2 separate regions of the Homo sapiens genome follow, and region 1 is linked to region 2. The links are contacts of gene promoters, found by promoter capture Hi-C in blood cells and fetal thymus (Javierre and others, 2016). All regions are on one chromosome and are shown on one strand. Each heading gives the region's core, a stretch centred on a gene start or on the middle of the fragment in contact. The rest is flanking DNA. Distances are from core to core; before and after follow the strand shown. Region 1 overlaps LINC02320 (long intergenic non-protein coding RNA 2320). Region 2 holds the start of BEGAIN (brain enriched guanylate kinase associated).

Region 1 (5,386 bases), core at 1,978-4,477, 1.1 Mb after region 2:
ACCATATGACCCAACAATTCTGCTCCTAGGAATATACCCCAAAGAAATGAAAGCATATGTCCACACAGAAACTTGTACATGAATTATTCATGATGCCCAAAAGATAGAAACAACCCAAATGTCCTTCAATGGATGATGGATAAACAAAATGTGGTCTATCCATACAAGGGAACATCACTCAGCCATAAAAAGGAACAAAGTGCTGATACCTGCTACAACTTGGATGTACCTCAAGAATGTTAAGTGAAAGTAGCCAGACACACAAGGTCACATATTGCCTGGTTTCTTTTATGTGATATATGCAGATTAGACAAATCCACGGAAACAGAAAGCAGCTTTTCTAGGAAAGTACAATTTACCGAAATTGATCCCAGTAAAGATAAGAAGTTGAAGCCATCTAGTTCCAGAAAAGAAATAGAGAAAATTGTAAATATATGTAAAAAGAAATAGAATAAAACAGAAGCCAACAAAATTGGTTAACTATAAGAGTAGACACCTTAAATACAAATTTGTAAATGCTCACCTCCACTCATAGTAAGGGAAAGGAAAGAAAATGAGACTTCTCTGTACCTTTTTTAACTATTTTGACTTTTAAATCATGTTAATATATTATACATTTATAAAATAAAATTAAATAAGATTTGGGGGAACACACTGAAATCAACAGAAACAAGCGGAGATAACTGTATATCAGTTTGATATCATGACCGCATAGAAGAAAATGATAATAACTACAAACACTTTTTGAACACATCGATCTGTTTGTGTAGAAGAAGAACTTAAAGAAATCCTGGACTTTATTGAAAAATTTGCTGTTGGTAGTGGATTTGGGGCTGCAGTCCCTAAACTATTTTCTGTTCATTGTAAGATTGAGCAAAAAGTAAATATATGGATGTTATTGAAAAGCAGGGTTCTTTTGGAGAGAAGGGGGATTCAAAAATGAAACGGGAGGAGGGGAAGAACTTCAAGATGTTGGAATGACATTAGAAGTACTGGTATGAAATAATTTTTGAGTATTTACTTTTTATCTGTCTCCACTAAACTGTCCTAGAAGCTGTTTAATAGGCCTGGGGCAAGGGAAGTAAAAAATATTTGTGCCAGAAAGTAAGGAAGCACTCAAAACTGCTAGAGACATGTCAAAAGTTTTCAAGAACACTTGAAGAGGCTATCGTCTGGAAAATTTGTAAAAATGTTATCCTCAATGTACTATAATGCATTAAATTTTAAAAAGAAATTCTGAAGGGCAGTGGGATTCTGACTCTAGCCATGACAGAATGACTTGTAGAGCTAATCCTCTTACTGACAACAACTGCAAAAGATAGTTAAAACGGCCGGGCGCGGTGCCTCACGCCTGTAATCCCAGCACTTTGGGAGGCCAAGTTAGGCGGATCACGAGGTCAGGAGATCGAGACCATCCTGGCTAACACGGTGATACCCCGTCTCTACTAAAAATATAAAAAATTAGCCGGGAGTGTTGGTGGGCGCCTGTAGTCCCAGCTACTCGGGAGGCTGAGGCAGGAGAACGGCGTGAACCCGGGAGGCGGAGCTTGCAGTGAGCCGAGTAGAGATCGCGCTGCTGCACTCCAGCCTGGGGGACAGAGCGAGACTCTGTCTCAAAAAAAAAAAAAAAAAAGATACGTAAAACATATAAGACAATTATATGAAGGCATTAGAGACCAGCCAAGGCCAACAGAACTTGAAGGGTTATGAACACTGAGAGAAGGTAAGTACATGACATACATTTCACAAATATCCTCACATTTTCCATAAGGGCATTTTCTACTTCCCAATTCAGAAAAACAAAGTCCAAGAAGAAAGCAGAAGTCTTTGCAAGTTTAGGAGACAGAAGTTGGAGTTTAGAGCTGCCTAACCATCTGGGACTTAGGGGATAAAATTCTGAGGTGGTGGGAACCATGAGGAAGTAAGCATAAAACTCTCTGTACAATTCAAATTAGAGTTTTATAACTAGAGTGTTAAACGTAATCACCACAGTAACCACAAATAAAATAGCTAAATAATATACCAAAAAAATGGAAATGAGAAAGAAGTTTAAGTGTGTCGTCAAGACGAAAAAGAAACGAAGGTAATAAGGGACAAAAGAGCTACGAGGCTTAGAGAAAACAAATAGCAAATAACAAAATGACGGAAATAAGTTCTTCCTTCTTGGAAACTACTTTAAATGTAAATGGATTAAACTCTCCAATCAAAAGTGATTGGCAGAGTGGATTTAAAAAGCACGATCCAACTATATGCTGTCCACAAAAGGCTCACTTTCCATCCAAAGACAGAAATAGGCTGAAAGTGAAGAATGTAAAGATATTCCATGAAAATAATAACCAAAAGAGACCAGTAATAGCTATACTAATATCAGACAAAATAGATTTTAAATCAAAAAAGCTTATAAGAGACAGAAAAAGACTTATATATTAGTAAACCATTCCATACAGAAAGATGACATAAACAGTTATAAACATTTTCACAACTGGTATATAAAGCATCAAATATGTAGAGCAAAAACTGACAAAACTGAAGAAAGAAATAGATCTATAACAATAGTTGGACAATTCAATATCCCATTTTTAATAATGGATAGAACAATCAGACGGAAGATAAGTAAGGAAATATAGGACTTGAACAACACAATAAACCAATTAAATCTAATAGACATGTACAGAACACTGTGCCCAATAACAGTATACACATTCTTCTCAAGTGTTCACGAGATATGTTCCAGGATAAAATATATGTTAGACTACAAATTATGCCTTAATTAATTTTAAAAGATAAATATAATACAAAGTGTCTTCTCTGACCACAACAGAATGAAGTTAGTAATCAGTCACAAAAGGAAAACTGGAAATTTCAAAAATTTGTGGAAATTGAACAACACACTCTTAAACAGCCAATGGATCAAAGGAAAATAACAAGAGAAGTTAGAAAATACTTAGAGATGAATGAAAACAGAAACAAAACACACCAAAACGTATGTAACACAGCAAAATCAGTCCTAACAGAGAAATTTATACCTATAAATCTTCCTTTAAAAATTAAGAAAGATCTCATATCAACAACCTAAATTTACAACTTAAGGAACTAGAAAAATGAAAACAAACTAAGCCCAAAGCTAGCAGAATGAGGAAAATAATAAAGATTTAAAAATTTTTAAAGAAAAATAATAAAGAAAATCAACAAAACCAAAAGTTAGCTCCTCAAAAAGATCAACAAAATTGACAATTCTTTAGCTAGATAGACAAAAAAAAAAAGGAGGGAGAGCAAGAGCACTCAAATTATTGAAGTCAGAAATAATTTCTAAATTACTGGGAGTATTACTACAAATTCTACAGAAATAAATAGGATTGTAAGAGAGCACTATGAATAATTGTACATCAACAAGTTAGATAACCTAGATGATATAGACAAATGTCTAGAAACCCAAAACCTGACAAGACTAAAATGTGAGAAAATGGAAAATCTGAATAAACGTATAACTGGAAAGGAGATTTAAGCAGTAATTTAAAATCTTCTGACAAAGAAAAACTCTGGACATGATGGCTTCCTAAGTGAATTCTAAAAAACATTTAAAGATGAACAAATACCAATTCTTCTCAAACATTACTAAAAAATTGAAGAGAACACTCCCAAACTTATTCTATGAGGCCATCATATGCTGATATCAAAGCCAGACAAAGATACCACAAGAAAACTACAGACCAAGATTCCTTAGAAAATTATGCAAATTTCCTCAACAAAATACTAGCAAACTGAATTCAGCAACATATTAAAAGAATTATACAGCATAACCAAGTTGTATTTATTCCTGAAATGCAAAGACATTTCAACATATAAAAATCAATCAATATAATACACCACACTAACTAAAAGGGGGAAAAAAAGACACGGTCATCCTAACTGATATAGAAAAAGCCTTGTATAAAACTGAACACATTTTCATGTTAAAAACACTCAACAAGTCAGAAATTGAAGGAAATTGCCTTAATGTAATAAAATCCATATATGAAAAACCCACAGTAAACATCAAATTCAGTAGTGAAGGACTGAAAGCTTTTCCTCTAAGATCAGGAGTAAGGTAAGGATGCTACTGTTACCACTTCTATTCAACATAGTACTGGAAGTCCTAACTAGAACAACTGGGCAAGAAAAAAAGGAATCCAAATTGGAAATAAAGAGGCAAAATTATCCCTGTTCACAGATGAATTGTATGTAGAAAACTCTAAAGATTCCACCAAGAAAAATATCTATTATAGCACTAATAACAAATTCAGCAAAGTAACAGGATACAGGGTCAACAAGCAAAAATTAGGGCATTTCTGTACACTGTCATTGAACAATCCAAAAAGGAAATTAAGAAAATAATTTCATTAATGGCATCAAAAAGAGTAAAATTCTTAAGAATTAACTTAACCAAAGGATAAAAGATATGTACAATGAAAACTATAAAATATTGCTGAAAGGAATTAAAGAAGACATAAATAAGTGGAAAAACATCCCATGTTCATGGATTGGAAGGCTTAATGTTGTCAGGATGTCAGTACTACTCAAAATAATCTACAGATTCAAGGCAATCCTGATCAAAATCCCATTAATGTTTTTGCAGAAATAGAAAAAGTCATCCTACAATTTATGTGGAAGTTCAAGGGATCCCTAATAGCCAAAGCAATCCTGAAAGGAAAAAAAAGAACAACAAAGATGGAGGAATAACACTTCTTGATTTCAAAATTTGATACAAAGCTATAGTAATCAGAACAGAGTGGTACTGACATAAAGACAGACATGTAGACCAATGGAATAGAACAAAGAGTCCAAAAGCTTTGCATATATGGTCAAATTATTTTCTACAAGGATGCCAAGACCACTCAATGGGGTAAAGGCAGTCTTTTCAACAAGTGATGCTAGGAGAACTAGATACACACATGCAAAAGAATGAAGTTGAACCCTTACCTGAAACCACATACAAAAATTAACTCAAAATGGATTAAAGCCCTAAACATAAGACCTAAAATTATGAAACTCCTAGAAAAAACATAGGGCAAAATCTTCATAACATTGGATTTGGCAGTAATTTTTTGGATGTCATACCAAAAGTACAGGCAACAAAAGAAAAAAATAGAAAAAATTGACTTTATGAAAATTGAAAAATTTTATGCATCAAAAGACATAATCAACAGAGTAAAAAGAAAATCTACATTACAGAGAAAATACACAAAACTCTTTAAACTCAACACCAAAAAACAAACAACCTGATTCAAAATTGAGCAAGGATTTGAATAGACATTTCTCTAAGAAGTCCACAAATGGCCAATAAGCACAGGGAAAGATGTTCAGCATCACTAATCATTAGAGAAATGCAAGTCAAAGACCTCACACC
Region 2 (6,150 bases), core at 2,072-4,571:
CTGCGTTGCTTCTCCACCTCATGCACCTCTTAATCCCAGCATGCACCCACTGTGGGATGACCAGGCTTCCATGTCTGGCTTCCCCAGGCAAAGCCCAGGCCTGACCCATCTCCATCCCTGACTTGGGCTCAGGGCTTGCTGATTGAACCAATGACTGCAATTCCCCTGCTTGGCTCAGAGCTGGGCCCTGGCTGATCCCCACCCCAGGCAGACCACAGAGGCTGCTGTACTGTCCTCCAGACTCAAGGCCTGCTGAGGCAAGGGCCACTTTTGAGTTCCCTTCCTGGCTAGAGGGGAGAGAAGAGCCCCAGCAGCTCCTGACTCCTGCCGTACTGGCCAAGGTCCATGTCTCCCAGCAAACTGTGGACTCGTGGAGGGCAAGGTCTGTGTCAGACTCACCTAAGTGACCCCAATGAGCAGTGCAGAGTGGGTGCTTAGGTACAGCATGTTAGGTGAGTGTAGAATTCACACACTTAGTCATTCATCATTCATTCATTCATTCATTCCTATAATGATTAAAGCAATAGAGACACCTCTGGCCAGCTTCTCCCACCACAGGCTACAATCTGATGCCTGCTCTCAGGCCACAGAAGTCACTCCCCTGACTGTAATGGGTGTTAAGCTTCTGATACGGAGCCCTAGAGAGGAGACAGTGAGTCAGCGGCAGAGGAGGAACCAGAACCCAGGGCTGCAGACCTCCGTCCAGGCCTCTCCACTAAGGCTAGCGACCAGCTCTGCGGCAGGAAGGGGAGTCAGAAGAGAACCATGCGGGGTGATTCTAGACCAACACGGCGAGTCCTAGGGTCACCCACCCATCTGTCCCAGGGATCCTTACCTCCCTTAGGGGGAGGAGCCACACCTCCCCACCGCCATGGCTTCCACACTCCAGCAGGACACAGCCTCTCTAAGTCTTGAGACTTGAACACTCTACACTCTCCCCATCACCTTCAGGCCTTGGGCCAGGCTCCTGTAACACACCTTGACCCCTTCATCTGTTCAGCAACTACTCAGCCCTTGGACCCCACCTCCTGGGACCCTGGGTAATGATTTGTGGACTGTGTCCAATAGCCATGGACTCATGGGCTTCAGTCAATCCCTCCCATCCATCCATCCATCCATCCATCCATCCATCCATCCCTCCCTCCCTCCCTCCCTCCCATCCATCCATCCATCCATCCCATCCATCCATCCCTCCCATCCCTCCCATCCATCCCTCCTTCCCTCCCTCCCATCCATCCCTCCCTCCCTCCCTCCCATCCATCCATCCCTCCCTCCCTCCCTCCCATCCATCCATCCCTCCCATCCATCCCTCCCTCCCTCCCATCCATCCATCCATCCATCCATCCATCCATCCATCCATCCATTCATCCATCCATCCACTCTTCAGCATCAGGAGTGCCTGCAGGAGTAGGGAAGCTCCTTCAAAGTGTTGCCGTGGAGATGATGCGTGGAAATGCTGATCCAGGGCCCAGTACATAGCAGGCGTTCCATAAATGGCAGCTATGTGGGCCAGACCCTGCGCCCAAGTCTTGGGAGAGTGGATGGAAGATCTTCCAGATTGCTTAGGGCTCATTTCCTCTCTCCAGGCCTGGGCTCTGACAGGTGTCCCCCTACTCCACCCCAGCGCATGGAAAACTCATCCTCCAGGCTGAGGTTCTAGGCAGCCCTCCCCTCCCCACTCAGCTCCCAGGTGCGAACAGCTCCAGGTTTTGACGACAAACGGAACGCGGAGCCTTGGAATCTATAAATATGAGACAAAAGCTGGGGAGGGCCCTTGGCGGCAGCGCAGCCGCCCATCGCCCAGAGCCCGTGTGCTGAGCCCGGGCAGAGCCGCATCTGCCACAGTGCTTGCTTTTCCAAGCTGCCCTGATTATAGTGAGAGTCGGGAAAATTAAGGGTTTGCAGGATGCTGCTGGGGCCCTCTCTGCCGTCTCCCCGCCCTGCGTGTCACAGATGCCAGGCAGAGCCACCCCCAACGGCCAGTTGCCCCTGCTGGCAAGACCAAGGCCAGCCTGGCAGGGCTGCACACCGCAGTTTGTTAGGGGCTTCTGCCCACAGTCCTCGTGGGAGCCTGGCCCTGGGAGTAGTGGGGGTCTCTGCTGCTCTTGGCAGGCAGAGGAACTAGGGTCCAGAGAAGGAAAAGAACCTGTCCATGGCCTCCAGAGAGCCAGAGCACTGGGGCCTCCGACGGAGCCTGGCTGTGGAGACCCCGCCCCACCCATACCCCCAGGGCCTGGACCCCCAGTCTGCACTGGCGGCCGACCTTGGCCATGCGGACTTTGCACGTGCAGTGCTCCCTATCCATCCGGCCCCGCTCCCGGGTGCCCACTCTGCTCCCATTCTGCCGGCTCAGGAGACTCCAGCGCGTCGCCCACGCTGTTCCTGCCCTGAGGAAACCACATTGGGGATGGGGTGGGGCACAGACGAGGAAGGAAACACCTCTAAACCAAGCAGGAAGCGGAAACGCTGGGGCAGAAATTCCCATCCAACGTGCTGGGGCTCAGGGAGGGTGAGCGCGCCGGCTGAGCCGCTCTGGGCGAGGCCCTGGCCTCCCTGAGCCTCAGTTTCCTCGCCTGTAAAGGGGCAGGAGGATAGTACCTGCCGCGAGGTACTGAATGGGATGGTGGTGTCCGAGGTTCGTGCGCGCCCACGCGCTGCAAACGCTCAATGAGGCGGCCCCGGGTCCAGCCTCCTTCCGGCTCCCGGGCCTTTCTCCGGCCTCCCAAGCAGGGGCTGGCCCTGCCCCCAGACGCAGGCGGGTCCAGGCCTGCCCGCACCCTCGCCACCCGCCCGGGACAGCGGCGGGTCCCCAGTCCTCCGGCCGCGCCCTTGGTCACCCGTCCCTCCTTTCCTTCCGCCGCAGGGGCGCGCGTGTCAGGGCGCAAGGACCCCGCGATAGGACCCGGGCGCTCCCGGCGGCGCGCGGAGGCTGGGCATCCCCGCCCCACCCGAGAGTGCCCAGTTCCCAGGAGACCCGGCCCGGCTCCTCCCGGGCCAGTGAAGCCTCCACGGCGGGGGCGCAGCGCGGAGGGGAGCGGGGCGGGGGGCCGGCCACCTCCCGCGCTGAGCAGGGACCGCCCCAGGCGTGGGTGGCGCCCGCCCCGCCTCCGCGCCCGCGCCCGCGCCCTGCCCTCCCGGCTCGCAGGTACTCACCGCCCGGCGCAGCCGGCCCGGCCGGCGACCGCCAGTCCACATGGCCCCAGGGCAGCCGCGCCGCTCACCGCCGCCGCCGCTACCGCCGCCCCCTCCCCTCCGAGGCCGAGCGCGCCGGGAGCCGGCGCGGCCGGGGCTCCCCCACCCCGCCCGGCTTCCCGCAGGGAGCGCCCGCCCCCCGCCCCCAGCCCGGCTCCCCGCCAGCCCCGGCCCCGCGCAGCCGCGGCTGAGCCCGCGCGTCCTCCCGGCAGCGCCCGGCCGGGGCGCAAGTGGTGGGCGCAGGGCCGGGCAGGGGCGCGGGGGTGCGGCGTGCGCGGGGGCCAGGCGAGGAATGGCAGAGGGGCAGGGAATGAATGAACCCGCGCCAGCTTGAATGGCTGAGCGCGTGAATGAATGAGTGCGGTAGAGCATGCGGGGCTGGGGGGGCGGGGGGAATGAATAAATGAGAGAACTAATGCACGGGCGCGAAGGTGAGTGACAGAGTGAATGGGCCCTTGAAACCCAGAGGCTGTCAGTAATGACCTGCCCAACCTTTTCATCGGTCCATCCATTCAATCCCTCAACATTTATTAGACACCTAGTGTGTACCAACCAGCCCTGCTGTAGGCCCCAGGGGGTACAGTAGCGAGTGAAACCAAGCTCCTGCCCTCGCAGAGTCACATTTTACAGATGAGGAAACCCTGGCTCCCAAGGGTGCCTCCTGGCCAAGCTGCCCCTTACCCTGCCCTTGCTCTGCCCGAGCCCCCAGTCGGTGGCTTCCAGGGCTTGCCTTCTCCCCAAGGAGCTCTCAGGAAGGGAAGGTGGCTTCAGGAGGACCAGTGTTGCCCCCTGCCTATCCCTCCAGTCTGAAGCATCCCACCGACCTGCCCGGTAGAGCCCAGGCTGGCCAGTCCTACCCTGGTAAAGGTGCAGCGTGAACCCTCCTCTCTCCTCCCAGAGCGGGCAAGGGGCAGCCCTGAGGGTGCCAGCTACATGAGGGTCTTCCATCCCAGCCAGCCCAGCAGCAGCCAGCGTGGGAACCCGGGGAGGAGCACTGGCAGCCAGGGAGGGTCCTGCGTGGTGGAAACAGAGCTGGCAAAGCCCGTGTGCTTCGCTCATATCCTCCCTCGGGACCTATGGGCTCATGGTTCACACATGCTTATATCATTTCCAAGTACATGGCAGATTAGAAGATGCTGCGAATGAGTACCTTGTATATTTTTGTTTTTTAATTGTGGAAAACATGGAAAACATAAAATTTACCATTTTAACCACTTTTAAAGTGTACAGTTTGGGGACACTGAGTTCCCACTGTTGAGCTGCCATCACCACCATCCTTATATGCTGTATGTTGTATGCTTTGCAGTTTCTACGCTCTCTCATTTAATCTGGGGAGTAGGTTGCTACATTCAGGCAGTGTCAGTGCTGAGAAAAGGCACTGATAGCAAGGCAAGAGGGGAAACCCAGAAAAAAAGGAGACAAGCAAAAGAACCAGCAGCTGACTGGAGCCACTTCGTGTCAAGCAAAGTCCTGTCTCTGCTCCCTCTCAGGTCCCAGGGACATGATTGGGTAACCAATGGACAGAGGGAGGCGCCTCCAAGTGCACCCCACCACAGTCAAGACAAAATGAGAGGCGGCAGCTCAGGGCGGGGCTCTCCCAGTTTGGGCGAAGCGTGGACAGACTTCGCCCAAACCGTCGCTGGTGTGCACCACGGGACCAGCCTCTTTGCTCAAGGGGGCCTTAGTCTCCCCAGCAGGAGTAGGGACAGGCTCCCTGACCTCCACTCTGGCCTCTCAGGTTCAGACACCATTCAGGCAGCACACAGCAGTGGAGGCATCCTGTGAGAGGTAGTGAGGCCCAGCCTGCCAGCTCCAGTGTCCCTTCCCTCCCCAGTCCCTAAGGGGACAAACACCAATGGGGGATGTGGAACCTGGGGTACAGGCAGGGCTCTGCCCACATTGCCTCCTCCTGGGCTGCGGCCCTTCCCCAGAGGCTGGTCCTGCTCAGATGGTGCCAGAATGTTCACCGCCCGCCCTGGCACTGCTGCTGCCAACGCCACAGATGGCTGGGGAGGCGGGGGAGGGGCGGGTGGGGTGGGGGCGGCTCCTGCTTCAGCTCCAGCAGCTTGCAGGCTTCAGCTCAGGCCTGCCTGGGAAGGCCCCAGGAGAGCCCCTCCCCCATGCTGCACGCACCTCCCGTCCCCACCCTCCCTGCCCTCTCTTCTATCCTTCCCACTCCAGCCCCCTTAAGCTAGGAAGGCGGAGAGAAAGCAGGCATTGGTTGTGGGTCTGGGAGCATCCCTGCAATGCCCCTGTAGGGGAAGTGGTACTAGCCCCTTTTTGCAGATGGGGAAACTACAGTCAGTGCAGCAGAGCCTGGGGCATCAGGCAGGCTTCCTGGAGGAGGCAAGGTTTCAGCCGGGTTGGGAAGAAGGGATGAAAGTGGCAGGACTTCGAGGTGATGCCCTGGGGCCATGGAGGACCCTCTCCTCAGGCCCCTGCCCTCATTCAGACCTCTACGGACCACTCTGTTTGACATCACCATCCCCATGGCTCAATCTCGTTGCCCTATTTTGTTTTTTGCGTGTCTCTTACTGCGTTCCAGAGCTATCTGATCTGTCTGTTGATGTGGACATCAATCTCCCCGCTGGGATGCGTGGTCCTCTACTGTGGTCAGGGAGCAGGGCAGGAAGTGGCACCACACTGGGGCTCATGGTTAAATGTGCCAAAGAATGCATGGATGGATGGAGGTGGGGGAGATAGGAATAGCCTGGTGTGATGCCAGGCTTCTGGCCCTGGTGGCTGAGTATAAAAGAAAGGACAGCACGTCAGGGAAGTCATTGACAGTGAGGCACCCGCAGACAGCCACATACAGGGGCTCCAGCATCAGCTAGCCATGCTGACCAGTTCCCTGCCTCATCTTCCAATCCCCACCCACAAGAACAGATTGAGCAAGGGTTCTGACTATGAGCCCTAGAGAATGGGAAGGTGAGAGGTATCTTCCCACTCTCCCACAAA

What was found. The method cuts DNA at HindIII sites, captures the fragments that hold promoters and counts their contacts. A CHiCAGO score of 5 or more calls a contact.
Region 1: a contact is called between a fragment that was not itself captured here and the fragment with the promoter of BEGAIN in region 2, in 1 of 17 cell types (endothelial precursors). The highest score is 6.0, in endothelial precursors.

The regions. Positions count from the first base shown.
Region 1 is chr14:101,641,655-101,647,040 of GRCh38, forward strand. The region is part of intron 1 of LINC02320 (long intergenic non-protein coding RNA 2320); the gene reads right to left. Among named protein-coding and RNA genes, the nearest start is that of DIO3, 83 kb to the left of the region's middle. The HindIII fragment of the contact is 1,665 bases long and covers 2,396-4,060 here.
Region 2 is chr14:100,584,096-100,590,245 of GRCh38, forward strand. It overlaps BEGAIN (brain enriched guanylate kinase associated), which reads right to left and starts at 3,322. Exons shown (of 7, transcript NM_001385089.1): 1 at 3,154-3,322. The coding sequence starts at 3,195. The HindIII fragment of the contact is 6,858 bases long and covers 621-6,150 here.